6 separate regions of the Homo sapiens genome follow, and regions 2, 3, 4, 5 and 6 are each linked to region 1. The links are contacts of gene promoters, found by promoter capture Hi-C in human tissues and cell types (Jung and others, 2019). All regions are on one chromosome and are shown on one strand. The core of a region is centred on a gene start or on the middle of the fragment in contact, and the rest is flanking DNA. Distances in the headings are between cores, read along the strand shown.

Evidence for each region. Contacts are between HindIII fragments. The study calls those that stand out against the background at their distance.
Region 2: a fragment that was not itself captured here is called in contact with the fragment with the promoter of EMX2 in region 1 in 1 of the 25 tissues and cell types used here (H1 embryonic stem cells).
Region 3: a fragment that was not itself captured here is called in contact with the fragment with the promoter of EMX2 in region 1 in 1 of the 25 tissues and cell types used here (H1 embryonic stem cells).
Region 4: a contact is called between a fragment that was not itself captured here and the fragment with the promoter of EMX2 in region 1, in 1 of the 25 tissues and cell types used here (dorsolateral prefrontal cortex).
Region 5: a contact is called between a fragment that was not itself captured here and the fragment with the promoter of EMX2 in region 1, in 2 of the 25 tissues and cell types used here (lymphoblastoid cells and small bowel).
Region 6: a contact is called between a fragment that was not itself captured here and the fragment with the promoter of EMX2 in region 1, in 2 of the 25 tissues and cell types used here (H1 embryonic stem cells and mesendoderm cells).

Annotation. Positions count from the first base shown.
Region 1 is chr10:117,540,739-117,544,059 of GRCh38, forward strand. EMX2 (empty spiracles homeobox 2) reads left to right here and starts at 2,008. Exons shown (of 3, transcript NM_004098.4): 1 at 2,008-2,935. The coding sequence starts at 2,530. It also overlaps EMX2OS. RefSeq lists an enhancer at 3,223-3,321. The HindIII fragment of the contact is 12,526 bases long and covers 1-3,321 here.
Region 2 is chr10:118,032,285-118,035,759 of GRCh38, forward strand. All of the region lies in intron 3 of RAB11FIP2 (RAB11 family interacting protein 2), which reads right to left. Among named protein-coding and RNA genes, the nearest start is that of CASC2, 13 kb to the right of the region's middle. RefSeq lists a silencer at 3,343-3,475. The HindIII fragment of the contact is 3,555 bases long and covers 1-3,294 here.
Region 3 is chr10:117,162,217-117,165,588 of GRCh38, forward strand. The region is part of intron 1 of MIR3663HG (MIR3663 host gene); the gene reads right to left. Among named protein-coding and RNA genes, the nearest start is that of MIR3663, 3.9 kb to the right of the region's middle. The HindIII fragment of the contact is 6,183 bases long and covers 1-3,372 here.
Region 4 is chr10:118,005,005-118,008,413 of GRCh38, forward strand. It overlaps RAB11FIP2 (RAB11 family interacting protein 2), which reads right to left. Exons shown (of 5, transcript NM_014904.3): 5 at 1-3,409. Among named protein-coding and RNA genes, the nearest start is that of CASC2, 40 kb to the right of the region's middle. The HindIII fragment of the contact is 8,693 bases long and covers 1-3,409 here.
Region 5 is chr10:117,844,824-117,848,449 of GRCh38, forward strand. No RefSeq gene overlaps it. Among named protein-coding and RNA genes, the nearest start is that of LINC02674, 110 kb to the left of the region's middle. The HindIII fragment of the contact is 8,189 bases long and covers 1-3,626 here.
Region 6 is chr10:117,959,157-117,963,003 of GRCh38, forward strand. No RefSeq gene overlaps it. Among named protein-coding and RNA genes, the nearest start is that of CASC2, 86 kb to the right of the region's middle. The HindIII fragment of the contact is 7,704 bases long and covers 1-3,847 here.

The DNA.
Region 1 (3,321 bases), core at 758-3,257:
AAGGGAAAGGCAGGTGTCTCCCACTGTGAGGGCAAAGCTGAGGCGCACACCTGTCTCATCTGTGAAGATGTGTATGTGTGTTCCCTGGGAAGGTGTGGGGTGGGGGCAACAAAGATGATCTCTGCCAGTTCCTCACGAATCTGTCTGGTGCCCTGACAACCCCGGAAAACACTGCTCCCAACTCCTCTCTTGCCTGGTTTCCCAAAAGAGGTTTTTGGACACTTGCCCCAACACAACATTATATCTGGAATAAAGGAGTAATTGACACAAACATAAATATACACCAGATGAAACCAAGGGAGGAAGCAGGTAGCTCGTCCTGAGACCTGTCCCCTCAACTATGCATCTGGTGGCAGTGCAGCCTGGCTCACGGTGGACTTCACTCTTCTCCTCCCATTGCCATCGGCTTCCCAGGTTTCACGGCAACCTAGTCACCAAACACAGGCAATTCTGCGTTCTTAGGAGAAATGACAGGGGCCTGGGAGTAATAGTTTTAAACGACGCTAGAATTTTTTTTTATCATTAATTGTAAACGTGCAAAATACCTGCTGGTACTTCACTTTAGAAGAATGTAATTGGCAAAAGGAAAAAAAGGAAAAAAGAGGCGGCTGATGAATAGATAATAGATCTTTAACCACCAATAAACAGAGAGCAGCGCCAGCAGCCTGGGGATGTGATCATAATTATGCCGCCGCGCGAGCCAATGGGGACGAGGGAACTCGGTCCTAAAATCATCCCAAAACCGAAGGCGAGCTCGAAAATGCGGACACGGCCCGGGACCGGAGATGCGATCCGTAGTCGTTAGTTGCACTGGGTTTGCACAGCAACCACCACCCCCCCACCAACCCCGGGACAACAGATGGCATAATAATAATAATAGAAATAATAATAATAAAATAATATCATCTATAATAATAATAACATTGACCACACTGACAAAAATAATTACGACGGAACCTTAATAGTACAGTAGCACCATATCGGGCTCTCCCCTGACCTTGGACTGCCGGTCCCAGATATTCCAGAAGGAATTGTTTTGGGGAAGGAGGTGAGCACCCTCCCAGACAGAAAACGCTAGAGACCGTGGGGCGAGAGAGGGAGAGAGTTGGAAGCCCACTGCTCCGGCGGGGTCGGCAGCTCCCGGTCTCAACTCGCAAACGAACGAGCCGGGTCAAGAATCGCGAACGCACCGACCCTGGGACCTCGAGGCTAAGCGTGGTTGATGGGGTGGGAGGACCCCGTACCCCTCACTCCAGGATCCCTCCTGGCCTAGGAAACCGCTGGGAGTTTTGCTAAGTGTGGGGATTGGTATAACCGAACGGCGCCTTTAGCCCGGGAACCAGCCCCTGCCCGCTTACCCTCGCGGTGCTCTTGGGGCGATCCCAGTTCTCCCGACGCGGGGCCGCGTAAGGCAGCAGCGGCGGAGCGCTAGGCTAGAGGAATCTGTCTGTCCTTCTGTCCTACCAGCTTGGGCGAGGCAGGCTCGGGATTCAGGGGGCCGCAGCGGAGGCGGCGCCGGCCAGGGACTCTGCAGGGACCGGGGTGCCCCGGAGGGAGTGGTGCTGGTGGAGGAGGAGGCGGTGGCTGAGGGGGAGTAGGTGGGGAAAGAGGAGGAGGAAGAAGAGGAGGAGGAGGAAGAAGAGGAGGAGGAGGAGAAGAAGAAACTGGAGGAAGAGGAGGAGGCGAAGGAGGAGGAGAAGCCGCAGCGGGCGCCGCAGGAGCGAGTGAGCTGGGAGCGAGGGGCGAAGGCGCGGAGAAGCCCGGCCGCCCGGTGGGCGGCAGAAGGCTCAGCCGAGGCGGCGGCGCCGACTCCGTTCCACTCTCGGCCCGGATCCAGGCCTCCGGGTTCCCAGGCGCTCACCTCCCTCTGACGCACTTTAAAGAGTCTCCCCCCTTCCACCTCAGGGCGAGTAATAGCGACCAATCATCAAGCCATTTACCAGGCTTCGGAGGAAGCTGTTTATGTGATCCCCGCACTAATTAGGCTCATGAACTAACAAATCGTTTGCACAACTTGTGAAGAAGCGAACACTTCCATGGATTGTCCTTGGACTTAGGGCGCCCTGCCCGCCTTTTGCAGAGGAGAAAAAACTTTTTTTTTTTTTTGCCTCCCCCGAGAACTTTCCCCCCTTCTCCTCCCTGCCTCTAACTCCGATCCCCCCACGCCATCTCGCCAAAAAAAAAAAAAAAAAAAAAAAAGAAAAAAAAAGAAAAAAAAAGAAAAAAAATTACCCCAATCCACGCCTGCAAATTCTTCTGGAAGGATTTTCCCCCCTCTCTTCAGGTTGGGCGCGTTTGGTGCAAGATTCTCGGGATCCTCGGCTTTGCCTCTCCCTCTCCCTCCCCCCTCCTTTCCTTTTTCCTTTCCTTTCCTTTCTTTCTTCCTTTCCTTCCCCCCACCCCCACCCCCACCCCAAACAAACGAGTCCCCAATTCTCGTCCGTCCTCGCCGCGGGCAGCGGGCGGCGGAGGCAGCGTGCGGCGGTCGCCAGGAGCTGGGAGCCCAGGGCGCCCGCTCCTCGGCGCAGCATGTTCCAGCCGGCGCCCAAGCGCTGCTTCACCATCGAGTCGCTGGTGGCCAAGGACAGTCCCCTGCCCGCCTCGCGCTCCGAGGACCCCATCCGTCCCGCGGCACTCAGCTACGCTAACTCCAGCCCCATAAATCCGTTCCTCAACGGCTTCCACTCGGCCGCCGCCGCCGCCGCCGGTAGGGGCGTCTACTCCAACCCGGACTTGGTGTTCGCCGAGGCGGTCTCGCACCCGCCCAACCCCGCCGTGCCAGTGCACCCGGTGCCGCCGCCGCACGCCCTGGCCGCCCACCCCCTACCCTCCTCGCACTCGCCACACCCCCTATTCGCCTCGCAGCAGCGGGATCCGTCCACCTTCTACCCCTGGCTCATCCACCGCTACCGATATCTGGGTCATCGCTTCCAAGGTACGTGCCACGTCGCGGAACTGCAGCGCGCCGCTCCCGCCGCATCCTTCACTGCCCCCGGCCTGCTCCGGGTGGGCGCTTGGCAAGGCCTGGGCGGAGGTTCCTCCGGCTCGCGGGCCAGCGCGCCCTGTTGGGAAACTAGGCGGCGCGGGGCCGGGCGTGGTGTCGATCCCCAGTCTCCGAAGCTACGACTGGTTTGGAGTGATGGCCTGCGGGCCGCTTGACCCTTTGGGAAGGGGTGCGAACGGAGAAGTTGTCCCCCAGTGCGCTCGAATCAGAGCAGGCTGGGCTGTGCGTGCCCGGCGCCGCGGAGCCCAGAGCCCGCGGGATCCCCAGGCTCCTGGTACCCTCGGCAATGCCCCCAACCGTCCTGGCTCCGAGGGGCG
Region 2 (3,475 bases), core at 267-2,766, 490 kb after region 1:
AGGTTTTACCTCAATCCTGAGAAACAATTCATTCATAGATGCCATAAATATTTAATAGACTTTTCTGCCTGGTCTTCAATGCTCACTATAATTTAGGGTGTGTGTGTGTGCATTAGGTGCGTGCGTGCGTGTGTGTGTGTTTAACCTATTCAGCCATATCTTTTACTCCTTTCCACCATATCTCTGTTTTAGCCAAGCTAACTTCCTTACTATACCCTCTACCTTAGTTAGGGACCTGCAAGCAGAGCTAATATGACTAAGTTGTCTAATTTAAGTACGCATTTGCCAGCACAATTCCTGATCTCCATTCACAGTGAATACTTACTGAAAGCTTAGGAAATAAAGTAGTCCCATCCCCTTATCTGTGGTTTTGCTTTCCACAGTTTCAGTTAACCACCATAGTCCAAAAATATTAAATGGAAAATTCCAGAAATAATTCCTAAGTTTTAATTTGCGTGTCCTTCTGAGTAGCCTCATGACATGGTAGGCCATCCGATTCTGTACTGCCTGGGATGTGAATCATCCCTTTGTTCAGTCCCTTTGTTCAGTGTACCCACACTGTCTACACTGCCTGCCCATTAGTTACTTAGTAGCCATCTCGGCTATCAGGTCGCCTATTGCAGTATTACAGTGCTTGTGTTTGAGTAGCCCTTATTTTACTTAATAATGGCCCCAATGTGCAAGAGGAGTGATGCTGGCATATTGTTGTAATTGTTCTATTTCATTATTATTGTTACTCTCTTACTGTGCCTAATTTATGAATTAAACTTTATCATAGGTATATATGTATAGAAAAAAAAACACAGGATATATAGGGTTCGGAACTGTGCCTGGTTTCAGGAATCCACTGGGGGTCTTGGAATGTATCCCCATAGAGTAGGAGGACCACTGTAGGTGATATAATATAGATTAGCAATTTTTAAACCCGATAGTCAATGGGAAGTTATTAAAATGTTGATTTTCATTTCAGGGCCTACTCACTAAAGATTCTAATTCAGTCAGAGGGGAGGCCCAACAAATTGTAGCTAAAAAAAAATAATCTCCAGGAGCCCTTGATGATCAGCACTGAGGTCATGCACAAATCTAGGTGCTGTGGTGCACCCAAGAAAGAGGATTCTGCACAACTGTTATGAAGCTTACACAGCTTAATATAAGACCTAGTACAATAAACATTGTATAGTAATTACTTCTTCTATATCAGCAGAAATCCAAAGGGAAACACGAGGTTATTACTCAAAAAAGAACACTCAGAGATGAGTTGAGAGTGCACCCCACAATTGAGCCCGGGAATGAAGACGGCATGGCTTACAAGGACCTCAGTGTAGAGACATGGCAGTAAGGAAATTAACTTACCTAGAACAGGTTGGTGAGGAACAGTAAAAGAAAACTTGGAAGGTTAAGAAAAGCCTAAAATACAACAAGCCTTAGAACGTTAGAAAGAGGAGTTTGGATTTGGTGTTGCAAACCAGTAGTTCTTAAACTTTTTTGACTAGGGCTTTCTTAAACACAACGAAAGGTACTACAGCCCATGTGCCCTCCTCAGTAGGATAAATAATGCTAAGTGCTCTAATAAATATATATATAAATCTCAGTAACTTATATCCTGTGAATTTATCATTTGGACAAGGGCCACTTGGCTATTCCTCGTCAGGTGGGCCTTCCACTTGCATGCAGAGACCCAGGCTGCTCCTACTTACAGCTCTGCCCATCTCAAAGATCCTCTCCATTCAGCTACTGCAGGGGTCAGCAAAGTATTTCTGTAAAGCCCAAACAATAAATAGTTTTAGCTTTGTGGGCCATATGGTCTCTGTCACAACTACTCAACGCTACCACCGTACACAATTATGACGATAATGCGGCTGTGTTCGAACAAAACTTTACAAAAACTGGCAGCAAGCCAGATTTGGCCTCCAAGCTTAGTTTGCCAATCCCTGGTCCAGGATATGGAGGAAGAGGCAAAACGGAGGATTGTGTTAAGAGTGTTAAGAGGACATTCCATGGGCCAGACCTGAAAGTGGTATACATCTCTTCCATGAACTCTTAAATAAGCCAGAACTTGCTATGTCCTAGTTAAAAAAAAAAAAGAAATGAAATGAACAAATTTGGCTTGGTGAAGACACACACCCATCATTTCCACTTTTAAGTGAAAAACAGCCTGGTGGTAACATTATTTACAATTTATTATTTGTGATTTTATAATATATTAAAAGATAATTTGTTGTGAACAAATTAAAAATGGTATAACAAACATTCAGGCATATTTGTTTTTGGCAAATGATATACTGCTGATAAAAAGAAGGATTACTTCGCAAATTGTGTGATAAACCAAATGATAAATTAGTTGACAATTTATTTGATAAAGCATGAAAAAAATTAGTTGATACTGATGATGCTAAACAACCTGTGACTTACAATTAAAAAACAAGACTAGTGGCAATTATAAAATACAAACAACTTAGTACCAGTAATAAACTGAGAAAACATTCTCCTGAAGATTACAAGAACTCCAACACTACTTACTGTATATGTGTCATAGGAGTTTTGCAGCATGCCAGCATTGGACAGCATCCCGACTTCTTAGTAGCAAGCTGATTAGGCATCAATGGCACACACAATATTGTAAGCTCACTAAACCCAATTCAGCTTCCTTCTGCGTATACAGCTAAGTCACAGTTCTTCACAGGTTGCAGTGAGGCTGGGGCACGGGTGAGCTCTGGCCAATGGGACATATGTGGAAGTAATGCATACTGCACTAGGCCTGGCACACAGAAATGACCCTCCTTTGATCCTCTCTCTCCTCCTGCGCTGCACTGATCTTGGAGGCCATGTGTTAAATGGTGGCATCACAAGAAGGAAGAAGCCTGCTTCCTGAGAGACTGTGCAGAGCTGGATGAATGCATAGAGCAAAGCACTCACTTTTCCTATCACCATTCCAGTGAACTCCTTTGTGACAAGAGTGAGCAATAAACTTTTGCTGTGATAAGCCACTGATACCGTGGTTATTACAGCTGACAACCTACCCTAATACACAGTTCTTAATAGTCTCCAGAAATGTGCTATTTAGATTGAATATTAAATTTTAGTAATCCTTTAAAACTTAGATTTTTAACAATGTTTAGTTGTACATAAAAATGCATACATACGGCTTTATGGATCTGTTTTCAGTCTATTAGAAAGATCTTCACAGCCCACGCAAGCAGGGCTGGAAGTAGGAGGCTAACGGAATGAGAGTAGCATTTCAGGAAACTGCTATACTGTGTGCATTAGGAAACTGGTTTGCTACACTGTGTGCATTAAGAAACTGGTCTGCTATACTGTGTGCGTTTATTCAAAATATCTAATACCTGCTACCTACCAAGCATCACGCTGGAGACTAAGGGCAAAAAGAGGAATGAAATGCAGACCCTGCTATCAAACTCTTCATGGTAGTGGGCAAAAAAAGTGAGACTAAGCTATTAGTGAACAATGCCATGCC
Region 3 (3,372 bases), core at 388-2,887, 380 kb before region 1:
CACCTGTGCAATATCCTTCTTTCATGAATGTCTCCAATTACATAGCTAGGGTTACAGATTTTCACAAACACAGTTTCATTTTTGATAGTTATGTAGCTGTAATTTCAGGCCATTTCACTCTATTGAAAGGTACGGGGGCTGCCTTTGCCCTCTCTTCCTCCTGTCGCTTAAACCATCCAAGAAAACATCAAGAAATTAAATAAGAAGGGAAAACAAGAGGTAGAGATCGTATTCAAAAGACTGGAGTCCACCACATGAGAAGAATCAAGTTTGTAACCGCTGGGGTTACCTCCCTGCTCTGTCTTCCATCTGGGCAATGGGCTAACATCCCCGGGCTGGGGGTGTCTGAGGAGGATGAAGACATCCTCAGCGCTGCAGAGGTGCTAAGAAAACAGCCAGCTGTCTCCTGACTTAGAATTTTTGAAAGCTTTCGGGCCTCTCTGAGAAAGCCGTTCCAAATCCACCCCGTATCAATTTGCCTTCTAGAAGCGGCAGGATAAGCACACGGGTTTGGGCAGTGCTCACATTTTGGGTTTATTGGCTTGATGGGGTTGTTTGGGGCGCTCTCAGTTACAAACTGCAGAAGAGTGGGGGCGGGGGACAGGATGGGGAGGAAAGGGTGGGCGAAGGAGCCGAGAGTAAGACAAGCCGAAGGGTGGAAACTGCGGGAGGGAGAGGAAACGCCGAAGGCGATGTAGAGTCCTGCGAGGGACCGGGAGAGGTAGGGAGGGATCCGAGCCGCAGTCCTGAGGGAGAGCGACCGCGCGCCCCGCAGCCGAGCTGGGTCCCTTCGCCCCGCCCGGAATCCCGGCCCCCGCCCGCCCCACGCAAGTCCCCGTGCCCCCTCCGGGAGGTGGGAGTCGCCGGGACTCTGCGCTCCGCCAGCCTCCGTCTGCTGGCCGGGTCCGGGATCCGCACCCGGAGAGGCTGAACCGAGGCTGAACCGAGGCGGACGCAGCCCCGGGTCGGTGGCTCGCCTGGCCGGGTGGGGTGGGAGCGATTTTCTGGCGGTGGCGTTTGCAGGAGGGGAGGAGACAGCGCCACCCAGGGCCTCCCCGAGCACTGCCGGCCAGGCCGGGCTCGGGGGCCGGAGTGAGGGTGCAGGTGGGGCTCCGGGTTCTGCTTCTTGAAGGCGGCGGCGGGGCGAGAAATGCAACCGCGTGGGCCCCGCCTGCTCCCCCCGGTCCTGTCTTTCCTCGACGCTCGGGAGGCGTCCCGCAGCCCCCTAGTCGCGATGCTCTCAGGTCCCCGGCGTGGACCAGCACGTGGGCCCGGGAGTCGAGTGGGGACGAAGGCATGTTGGCCGCCTCAACTTCCTGCGCCGACGGCTGGGGACGCGGAGAACCCTCTCCGAGCTGGGGTCCCCGCCTGCTGGGCAACCTCACCTCAACGTCTGGCCTGGCCTGGGGCCGCTTGGACTCGGCAGCGGCTGCACTCCTACAGAGCCCAGACGCGCCTTCTCGCTTTTTCCTTTCTGGGCCGGGGCCCTAAACTCCCGGAACTCGCCGCAAGAGGAGCGTTGAAAACAAAAGGGACAGCCCAAGCTGTCCCGCCCGCTGCGCCCGAGGAGCATCCCCTTGGCGCTGCAGGCTGTCGCCTCCCCCAGCACCTGGCGGGGCGGGTGCCAGGCTGGGCCTCTAGACGGTTTCACCGCTGCTTATCATTTCTCCTTCATTTTGCAGGGGCAGGGGAGCTGCCCCTCCCTTCGGAGAAAGGCCGCGCCTGCACCCAAAGGTAACCCTCGGGTGACCCCGGGAGCGGGGCTGTCTGGCCTTGGTGCGAGACCCCGGGCGGGGGGTCAGAGGTTTCTGTTGCATCAGAGAAACACGGCAGCGTCAAAAAGAAAAAGCTTCCAGTGGGTCTGGGCCTAAAGCTATTTTTATTTAAGTCTCAAATTGTCTAGTTTGCCATTTTGCTTCTATTTTTTAAAAAATTATTTCTCAGTGGCATGGGGGAGGGGAGATCAAAGGTGACGGATGGGTATCTCTATGTTGGTGTCAAGTATGCCTTCATGTCTGTCGTTTCTTCAGCAGTTGTCCCAGTACCGTCCACATAAAGTATCTTCTTCCAAGGACCCGTTGCAATAAAACGGGATATTTCTATTTGGACCGTTCTATGTCAAAGAAGGTTGGCAGCAGCGCCAGGCTTACCCATGATTAAAGGGGGACATTTCCTACAATAAGGTAGAGTCAATGCAGAACCCACAAGCTCATTGATTTCCATCCCTGTGTCGTCAGCTTGTTCACTTTCTCCTAAGATTATGACAATAGTAGTAATAATAATAACCAGGACACAAATAACTCTTGAGAGGTCACTTGTAACTACCTCTTCTTGGAGGTGAGAAACACACACATGCATACACACATACACCCCTGTGGACTTATGGTTTATTTTTGTCAGAGGAACTTAGAATTGCCTGAGGTGGTGTGTGTGTGTGTGTGTGTTTTTTTTTTTTAATGATTTATTTACAGACTTGCTAATGCCTCCGCAGAAATCCTGTTTATCAGCCCAATAGTTGTGACAGGGTTAGAAAACCAGTTTAAACTGTTAATCGGCCAGAAAAAGGGCCCTAGATTGATGCCTTTCACTTACCTTTGAAAGGCTATAAAAGCAACGCCATACATTGGGATGAAATTAGACAGCGACAAAATCATTACCTTGACTTCCCACAATAAAGACAACCTTAAAAGGGGGCTATTGATGGTTTCAAATTACATAACGGTGGTTTATATGTTCTTCCTCTGCGCTCACAGAAAGCAATTTTAAAGTGTGAATTCTTCAAAGAACGGGCAAAGCATTCACACACAGACATGCGTTTTTATTTTATGTATTGCAAAGCGCTATGAGAGAGAGAGAGAGAAACCAAAAACAAAAATCCCAGCAAAAGGAGGCCGAGTCCAAAGAGAATATGTCCGGTTTCTATTTCACCAAGCTCCTGGACTCACATTTGGCCCCGGAGCCGAGTGCTCGGTCTCTTTCCCCGGGACGGGACAGGGAGTGGAGTTCCTAGCCCCTTGGGTGGGAAAAGCCCCGCGCACGTCACCGGGTCCCGTCTGCTCACTGCTTCTGCATATTTTAAGCCTGGACACAGCCTCCTTTAGGATAGAAAGGCATTTCCCAAACAACACCGATTCTGGGGGTGTAGTGGGCCTGGCGCTGGGTCCTGGAGAGAAGGTTCAGCCCCCCTTCTCATCCCTGTACTTTGGGGATGGCTCGTACTTGGACAGGGGTGGGCCTCCGCCTTCTCCGCCTTCTATCGGACCTTTCTTCGGATGGATTTCTACGTAAACTCGGAAGGCGATCAAATGCAGGCGGCCAACCTCCAGCGCTTTTTTTTTTCCTCTCAAAGGCGGCGCCTGCATTTTTGGGGGC
Region 4 (3,409 bases), core at 831-3,330, 460 kb after region 1:
AATTGTCACATTATACAATGCTTACATACTTTTGAATTTGTACCTGCAAAAATGTATACAAGTTATGAGAGCATTTACTTAAGAAGATAAGTGTTATACTCTTCAGTTATAAATAATGCTTCTATCTTTCAAATACCCGCTAAATATATGCATTTCTAGATCTGCAGCATTTTTTTGTACCTCAAAACACAAACCATCTGGAAGCTTCGAAGACTAACAGGCCCACATGTATCATGTATTAGACTTCAACTCCACTGTGAGAGTGCATTTTTTGATGGATAAAACAAATGGAATGAAACATCAACTCTATTTTAATGCTTGAAGAGCTTCTATACCTCTTATTAAATATATCAGAAAATGCTTCATATGCAGATTAATTAGCTAAGGTGCTACCAATTGCATATTAAATACTTCCAATGATTGCATCTGGATTATTAAAGTTCTACATCTGTGCAAATGGGGGCTTTCCATGTGTGCTGACAGACCCTTCTACATACCATCATGGCCCAGCAGCACTGTGATCCTTTCCCTTATTTCAAAGGGACCAAGTGAATGAGCATGCATCATACTTCACTTACACATACACACAAGTGACACCTACCACCTACAAGACATATGAGTACATGAACATCAAAAAAGTTTCAGCTTGATTTACAAATCCAAGGTAAATTGCTTCTTCTGAAAAGCTACAGAGGAAAATAAAAGCTCTAGTGTAACATTTACTGTAGATATATTAGACAACAGTTTTTTGTTTTTTTTTTTAGATTCTCTTTGTTAAAGAATAAGCACCCTTCCGGGGATGGTAGGCAGGGAGGCGTGGTGGTGAGGGAGTTGCTGGAGGAATAACAAGAAGAAAACAAGTCTGTCACTAATGAGCTTAGTTTTACTTAGGTTTCCATTCATGAAACCCTTTTAAATACAAGGCAACATTTTCACAGCTGGAAAATTACAACTAAATCTTGATTTACCACCAAAAGCAATAGATGTAGTTATGTATAATCTATAGATAATACTACATTCAGGGGACAATGGCAAAACTAGGCTCAATGCAGAACATAGCAGCAAAAAGCAATACTTAAAAACGTTTTTCATGAATGGGTTACATGTTGTTTTATATACAATTCTAAGATATGACCCTGGTATTCAATAAATGAAACTTGAAGCGTAAGTGGTAGGAAGGTATGTTCAATATTTTTAAAGCTGAATTTTAGAATTGGTTATAAAATAATACTGCTTTAAAAATAATAGCAGAAATAGTTTAATTATGTAACAGAAGTACATTAGCTTAAGATAGTCTTGAGATAAATATCAATTCTGTGATTTTAAAAAATCCTCTTGTTGGTAGTAGTGTTTTGGGCATGCATTCTTTAAAGCATAAAAGCAAAAATAAACTCTATAATCTAGTGTACTGTGCATTATTTAATAAGCACATATATTTTATTTCCATTTCTAAGCAACTAACAAAATACATTAGAATACCTAAAGTTATGTTTTGGAAAAATAAACTAAGGTGACCTTTTTGGCCTCTTTTTCTACAACGTGAGAAATTAAAACTACTTTGCACTTCTGCCCAAACACAGGAAACACTGATATATTTACTTGGGAACTAATTTTTACTTTTTGTTTTTAGTTTTATTATTTTGACTGATTATGAAAATATGCAATAAGTTTACTCTAGGTAATGAGTGAAAATTCACAAACATTAGAACAGCAAATTTTCAGGCAGTGATGAATGTATTAATAGATCTAGTTTTAAATATAATACTTGTCTCAGATTTAAAGATAAAAATTTTGATTGAGTTATAACCAAATCACTCATGTATGAATAAAGCTAAGCCTCAATAGCTTTTATATAGGAAAAGAATCGCTCCTTAAAAATCAATTTCCCCATAAAAAGAAGAGCAGTACTTGAACCATACTTTTAAATGAGTTCTATTTATGTAAAACATATCCCCAATACAAAACTGACATCTTGGTTCACTCTATAAACAGCAAATTTGGCCAAAGCATATTATTATAGTATCTGCAGATACTGTCATAATACTGAAAACATAGATTTTCACATTTTAAGAAGTGTATGAAAAGACTCAATAATACTACCAGACAAAAACAAATGCTGAGAATTTTGTAACATTTAGTTAATTAAAAGTGGCACCATGTTTAAAAAAAAAAAAAAAACTACCAAGACCTCAAACGGGAAAATACCATTCTACACCAGACTTTGAGGTTTATTACAGAATCTTGAGGAGAAAAAAATTGATAAAAGCTATTTTTCCTTCTCCATTTCTTAAAGCATTTAATTTTTATGAAAAAAATGTTCATAATTTCAAAATGTATGTTCTTACAGTAAAACTGAAATGCAGAAGATACAAATAACAAGGGGTTTTAGTTTACAAATACGAGCTTGGCCAAGTATTCTCTGATTCAAAATACTAAAATAAGCAAAAAAAAAAAACCCAAACTATTATATCGGCTTTTTGTTTAACTTTCAATGGAGTCTTAACAGAGATAAGTATTAGAAAAAAATGCAATTCATGGAAAGATTGGGGAATATGTAAGTCTCCATATGGACATGAATTTTCATTTTAAATTCAGAAAGACATAGATACTCTCAGTGTTTTATAGTATTTCAGACTTTAAAGGCTGAAAAATAAGCAGAAGATTAGCAATATTTTTATAACATTGCTTGTCAATTTAAATTTCAGAAAAAATTTGTACAAATCATATAAAAATAATCCATGGAAGAAATCAGTATTTTGGGGGAGTGGACTTTAAAATAGAACATAATTTTGTAATAAATCAATTCTTAAAGGGTGGATGTGGAGTAATGCATAATGTCACGCTCGTAAAGTTCTCTTCTAAAAACTCACTCTTCCTTTAGTAAGTCTTATTTTGGTTCAAGACCCAAAGGCAACCATCTGCTCTATTATTTATGTAACCTGAAACCAAGCCTAATTCTTCATTCCTGGAATCTGCCCGCTGCTTTGGGTTATCAGACACACCAGGCAATCACATACTTCCCACAATTATTTTCAGATATAACTTTATAATATTTGCTTTGCTAGTGATTTAAAGGCATGCAGAATTTCAACAAAACAAGCTATATTAGCTTATCTTCTGCTTATACCTTAAACAAACTCAAATGTTAATTAATTCAAATAAATTCATGCTGTTATGAAGTTAATGAAGTCTCCTAAAATTTGTCATTCTTTAAAAAAGGACTTGAGATCATCACTTTTGGGGAAAGAGAAAAACTTTGATGCTAGAATAATATATAGCAGCTCACTTTGAAACCAAGGTCCATGTAGTCAAGAGTGATTTGAAGCAGCTTCTCTATAACAAACCATGACAGTAGGAAGGATGACTTGTCTTGCATCAATAGAGCACACACATTTTCAAATCAAGAAAT
Region 5 (3,626 bases), core at 1,127-3,626, 300 kb after region 1:
TTAAGTGGGCAAAGAGAATCTCTAATTCCTAATTCAGTATAAGAATTGGCACTATCTGAAACCACCTAGGAAATGAACACTCAGGCATGGCTGGGAGGAGTCTGGGATGCATAAGGGGCCACAGTGGGCTTCCCACTAGGGCAAGTTCTGCAGTTATAGAGCAAAAGGGGATGTGTTTCAGGATTTCTGCTTTTCTAAGATTATGGAAAATCTTTTTCCGATCTCACAGATCCCTGAGGAGTCTCTGTTTGGACCTGGGAAAACTGTTGGGAAGTCTAATTAAAAGAGAACAATCATGACATGGGGATTAGTCTAACTGGATAGGTCAAGCTGGACACTGTTTCTTCCTTTTCTAAGTTAGTAGGGAAAATTTCTTTAACAGAAAAAAAAAATACATTAGCAGATGATAGGCTCCAAGTAGACCTAGTTAGGTGGGACTTTCACAAAGAGTGGGATAACAGCCTTTGAAAAAAATTATAAAGGAAAATAAATAGCCATGTGTTAAAGTCATGGGGCTGCAGAACAATAATAATAATAACTATAATAAGCACTAGAAAGCAGATGCTAATGGGAATAAATGCAGTCATGACCCACTCTGGTTTAACTGTTTCTGTCAGGACCGGTGCCTGTGTATTAATGATGAGAGGAGAAGCACTTCATGCCCAGAATGTTGAGGGAGGATGTTTTCTGGTAATAGCCAGTTGATTTTACTTGCTAGCTGAACAGAGGAGAACAGAAACAATATTAATGACAATAATAAAACTAATAATGGGTAGCACTTACCGGGTGCTTACTATGTGCCAAGAACTGTTTTGAGTGTGTTACCTTTGTCTTCTCTTTGAGTTTCCACAGTCTTTCATGGGTGAGGAAATTGAGGTCTGGAGATGTCAAGTCACTTTCCAAGGCACACAAAGCTTAATCTTGGCAAGCTGGGATCAAAACATGCATTGTCCCAGGGCAGGGACAAACTCATTTTGGAAAAGTGCTTTAGGGCACAGGACCTGTTCACTTCATCATCTCAGTCATTGGCCAGGGAAACTTTCAAGTTCAAGCTTTTAAGTTCAAAGCTTGAAGCAATGAGGCTCTCGTTACTCCCTGCCTGAGGACAGAGCCCAGCACACCTACTTCTCGTGTGGGTAGCACTGAACATTCTCCAAACTCATAGTTTTCGAGCATTTCATCTGGAATTTATTTTTGCTTATGATGTGAGTTTTGAGATATAGCTTTCCATCCAGCCCTGATAGCCAGCCAGTTATTCCTGAATCATTTCATATATGAATGGTCCTCTTCACATGGAATTAAAATGCCACCTTTGTATGTATTTTGCTCCCATATAGACTGTAATCTATTTCTGAACCTATTTTGTTCTTGATCTATTACCTTTTTCTCTGTCAGTGGTGTATTAGATTATAGTGTAGTTCAGTATTGTGTGTATATATATTATATATATATATATAATATATATATGTGTGTGTGGGTATATATGCGTATACATAAAAAGTATAGTGAGTTGCATAATTTTGTAAGAGGACCTCCCAGATATTTTTCCCTTTTAAACTTCTCTTGCTGGTCATTCTCAGATAGGTATTACTACATATAAACTTTAAAATAGTTTCATGCACTCCCAACATCCACGAAACAAGCATTGGATGCTAATTTGAATTGCATTTCATTTCTAAGTTAATTTGAGGACTGATGTTTTATGGTATAAAGTTTTCCAATACCAGGAACATACTATGTCTATCCAATTTTGGGGGTCTTATTTTAAGATCTTCAATAAGATTTTATGGCTTTCTTTATATAAGTTCTATGCCTTTATTATTAAATTTATTCCTGGTTAATATAGTGAATAGGATTTTTTTAAAATTTCCATTTTATAACTGGTTTTGGCTAGTGTGGCAGGCACTGTTTTGCTGGCCCAAATTCCTACAACCTCCCTGCTTAAGTGTTCCCAGGTTTACATTCTCACTGAGGTGCCAGGGAATTAAGAGGTTCTAGGAGATTGTCAGGAGATGAGGAAAGAATCCCCCAGCTACCTCACCTCTCTCCTGGCTCATGCTTATGGACACAGGGGAAGTTTTCCCAAGGACCAGCTGATTGAGGAGGAAAAACTCAGTTTGGGGCTCACAGAGAAGTCAGCCCAAGATATCATGGCATGCTAAAATGAATGCTGTCACTCAGGGGATGGCCTGAAATTAATAAGGGCAGAAATTCAAGAAGCATACCTTGCCACAAACTTGGTGTGGAGGGAGAAGTGACCTGAAATAAGGATATACATAGACTCCAGGGAAGTGGCAAATGGTCTGCCTGGTTGGTCAAATATCTGACATGAACAAGATTAGAAAATCAGAAACAAAGAAGTCTTGGGAAGAAGAATGTGGATGGGCCAAGGGAGTAGGCACATAATGTGTAGATCTTTGTGACCCACATCAGTGCCCACCAGGGGGAATCCACCGCAGAGAAGGCGTGAAACATTAATGTGGCCAACAAACATATGAGAAAAAGCTCATTACCACTGGTCATTAGAGAAATGCAAATCAAAACCGCAATGAGATACCATCTCATACCAGTTAGAATGGCGATCATTAAAAAGTCAGGAAACAACAGGTGCTTGAGAGGATGTAGAGAAACAGGAATGCTTTTATACTGTTGGTGGGAGTGTAAATTAGTTCAACCATTGTGGAAGACAGTGTGGAGATTCCTCAAGGATCTAGAACCAGAAATACCACTTGACCCAGTGATCCCATTACTGGGTATACGCCCAAAGGATTATAAATCATTCTACTATAAAGACACATGCACATGTATGTTTATTGTAGCACTATTCACAATAGCAAAGACTTGGAACCAACCCAAATGCCCATCAATGATAGACTGGATTAAGAAAATGTGGCACATATACGCCATGGAATGCTATGCAGCCATAAAAAACGATGAGTTCATGTCCTTTGCAGAGACATGGATGAAGCTGGAAACCATCATTCTCAGCAAACTAACACAGGAACAGAAAACCAAACACCGCATGTTCTCACTCATAAGTGGGAATTGAACAATGAGAACACATGGACACAGGGAGGGGAACATCTCCCACCAGGGCCTGTCGGGGGGCAGGGGGCTAGGTGAGGGATAGCATTAGGAGAAATACCTAATGTAGATGATGGGTTGATGGGTGCAGCAAACCACCATGGCACATGTATACCTATGTAACAAACCTGCATGTTCTGCACATATATCTCACAACTTAAAGTGAAAGAAAGGAAGGGAAGGAAGGAAGGAAGGAAGGAAGGAAGAAAGAAAGAAAGAAAGAAAGAAAGAAAGAAAGAAAGAAAGAAAGAAAGAAAGAAAGAAAGAAAGAAAAAGAAAGAAAGAAAGAGGGAAGGAAGGAAGGGAAGGAAGGAAGGAAGGAGAAAGAAAGAAGGGAAAGAAAGAAAGAAAGGAAGGAAGGAGAAAGAAAGAAAGAAAGAGAGAAAGAAAGATGGAAAGAAAGAAAGGGAGCAAAGGGTACAAGGCAGGTGGTGGGATGGGGAAAACCGAGGTCAGTTAATTTGGATATTATAGGAAAAAATGCAAATCATATGCCAAACAGCATCCATTGTTTGGAGTCAAGAATTCAAGCACTATTTGAA
Region 6 (3,847 bases), core at 887-3,386, 420 kb after region 1:
TGCCCTTCAACAAGTAAACAGATAAGCAAATGGTGATACAAACATCCCAAGGGGTGCAACTCAGCAATAGGAGAGAACAAATGACTGCTGCATGCAAACAACTTGGTTGGCTCTCAAGGGAACCACGATGCATGTAGAAAGCCATTGCCAAAGGGTTAAACATTTTATGATTCCATTTATATAACATTCCTCAATTTACAAAATTAAAGTAATGAAGAACAGATCAGTAGTTGCCAGGGGTTAGGGCTGGGGAAAGGATGAAATTATTAAAAGGTAACATGAAGTCACTTCTCAATTGTGAAAGAAGAGTTTCGTATCCTGATTGTGGTGATAGTTACCAGAACCTAAAATTTGATGAAACTATACATACACAACATTCATGTAAAAAATGTGGAAATCCGGGTAAGGTTTTTACCTGAATCAATAGCACTGTGCCAATGTCAATTCCTAGTTTTGACCATGTACCATGGTTATGGACGATGTTACCATTGGAGGAAACTGGGAGTAGGGTATACGGGAATTCTCAGTACTCATGTTGTAACGTCGTGTGGTCTTAACTATTTCAAAATAAAAACTTATATTAGAAACAGCACATAAGTGCATATAAAATTACAATTCTGTTAAGTGCTACAGGGAGAGCTATATGATGCTATGGAAGCCTCTGATGCAGGGATTGACCTGGTGATGCAGGTCAGGGAAGGCTTGAAAATGAACTGAGATCTAAGGAAAGGATAGAGGTTAATGAGGTGAAAAGGGCAGGGAGGTTGAATCCAATTCTCTTGACTTAGGAAGAGTTCAATAAGGTAGAAAAATAGTTCTTTCCATGAACCTCCAAAGCTGAAACACACAACAGTGCAGATGAGCAGTGAAGGCTTCATCTATGGTGGGTAAAAAAGAAGGGTTCAGGGACCTAGGAAACCCGTCAGCTACTGGGCAAATTAGAAGGGTAGGGAGAAGGGAAGCAAGATAGCTAAGAGAGAGGGTGGGGTGAACCCCAACAAGTCAAGTCAGGAGCCCTCTAAAATCACTGCAGGGCTTATTGGTGTATGCTAACCTCTAAATCCCCAACCATGGTGAGGGAATTCCCCATCCACAGGTGTTTCGGTCTAAACTCACTTTACCTGACAGGTACAGGGGAGCTGTGGGGAGCAGCCTGTGAGCTGCTTCTGACTCAGTAGAGTGTTAGGGAAGAAAGAAGAGCAGAAGTCAGACACCTTCCCTCCTTCATATATATCCCTTCCCTTCTCACAGCCATTTCCCTGAGCCTAGCCTTCCACCAGGGAGCTTCAGGAGCTGAATGAGACCCACGCTTTGGTTCTCCCATCCAGCAAGTTACACCACCTCTTTGGGCAACAGTCTACCCCTCCATAAAGCAAATCTAGACCAAATGACCTCACAGCTGACTCAATCCTTGGGTTTGTTGATTCTGGCTTCTGGCTTTTTGATCTGCATTCAAATTGCTCTTTCATTTTTGTCTGCAGTCATCTGTATGAGTACCTAGAGAAAGACTGGGGGAAACAGTCATGACTACGTTACAAGCTTCTTTTTAAAGTCATCCATTTGTTGTGAGAGAGTTCAACGGTTATCTAGAAGCTAGGTACAAAGTACAGTCTGCATTTATGAATCCCTGGAAATAATCTTGTTAGGTCAAGTACAAAGAATTATTTTACTCGCTAAGTTCCAATGAAAAGGAGAAATTGGATATACCATTATATAGACTTCTAAACTAAGAGAGAATTTAAATTTTCTCTTAATAGTGATTTGACTCAGCTAATATTTATACATTTAATAAAAGTTTCAACATTTTAGTTAAAATGCTATTTTTACAGTAGTCTTCTGCTCAGAGAGATTTAAATTATATTCATTAGTAGTGTCATGTTCAATGACTGAAGCCATAACATCAGAGTGAACCCAATTGACGGGCAGAAATATATTTGCTTAACAAAAAAAGAGCAAAAGAGACAAAGGCAGACATGAATAGGAAGGGTTTTTTTTTTTTTTTTTTTTTTTTTTTTTTTTTTTGGAAGGCTGACAGTTCTTCCCTCCAAGCAAATTATTACTTATCTATCCACCCAGCCTGATAAAAATAATCACAAATATTTTGAATGCCTGCATTGAAAGATGGATTTAGAACGTTCAGTGCTCACAGTGGCAGAATGGTTATGTATGGTTTCATTTGGACTCACAGCCGACCAAAATATGGGTGTTTAAGCCTGTGGAGCAGGAGCAACTAATTGATCCCACTTAGGAGACAGACTGTGAATAATGGGCCATTATATTTTGATGGAACACACAATTGCCTTGAACTTCTCAGAAGTTCAGGTGTGGGGATCCAGCTACCTGGGGCAGTTGCTGGAATGTGATGGTCTGCGGGCTTCTGATCATGCATCTGCCTGCTGCACCCCTCGTAGGGCCCAGCTCCATTTCACGGGAATAACTCACCTATTCATGAACAATGAGGTTCAAACTGTACCTTTCCTTAACACAACATTAACTCTCAAAGAGCTGGAAATTCAGCACTCGGTTTCGTGAGCTTAGATTGCAAATCAGTCACTGAGAACATTATATGAGCAGTAATCCCATTAAATATATCATCTTGCAAATATCTAAATCCAGTTAATTAACTTGTATTGCAAAAGAGCTTGGAGATATAGTTTTCAGAGAGCAACCATACATTTTAGGGCCCTAATTATACTTAAAGTAAATTTCAGGCTCTAGTTTTTATAAAAAATAGGTGGAAAACCGCCTTCTAAGGAAAAAATGGATTGATGGAGGGCTACGTTTATGAGATTTAAACAGAAAAGATATTTAAACATTTCAAAAATTAACTGCTTTCTTGCATAAACTTTTTACTTGCATTGTAGGGCGGTTTTTTAATAAAAGGATTAAACAAAGTCTGCTATTTTAATTAAAATTCATAGCAATACAATGTCATCTTTGCAATGGTCGTAGAAATTAACTAGCTCATGAATTTAGCCATTTCAGAGTTCATAATAATTTGACTTCAGCATAATATCCAAACCCACATGATATGTAGATTTTAAAATAATCACAGCAAGGATTTAAAAATAAAAATAATAATTTCACCTAGTGAAAATCCCATTACTGAGTTAGACATACATGACAACATTGGCTTAATAATTTCTCAGTGATCAATAAGTGTCTGGGATGCATACATAGCTCTATGTAGCCATATGTGTGTATGTTGCATGAAATTTGCATAAATTGAGTGCTCTGCATAAACTTTGCAGAAAACTCTGTAGGTGTACGTTTATGTGTGTCTTTCTGTCTTCCGATACCACTCACTCACTTCATGCTTGTTTTGAACTAGCCTCATACCACCCACCAAAAAAGTGGATCATCAGTGGTATTTGTCAGTAAAATAAACCCTCCCAATATATGCTTTGCATTATGTTTCATGAAAAATCCACACCCTTTAAGTGCAAAATTCAAGACTGACTTATTTTAAAATAGTTTAAATTGTGGTTTCTCTAGACTATTATTCAATGCTGACATAAAAAAACTAGCAATAAAGTATATGAATACCTTCAATATAAATAGTGCTTTTCTTCTAGATAGTTCAAATTTTCATCCTATGTGTAAATCCATTCATATGTATGAAGAACACATACAATAAAATCTTTTAAAATCTCAATGCCAATTGAAGACTGTGGCAGATAAAGTTTTTAAAAGATGTCAACAGGACTGGATTTATTCATGCTAAAATCCATGACCCCATTTGGGGCATCATTTGGGGCATCATGGTCCACTGTTCTGAAGAATAAAGTTTCAAAAATATTCACAGATTCTTTCTAACAATATCATTCTCTCTATCCAAATGTCACCA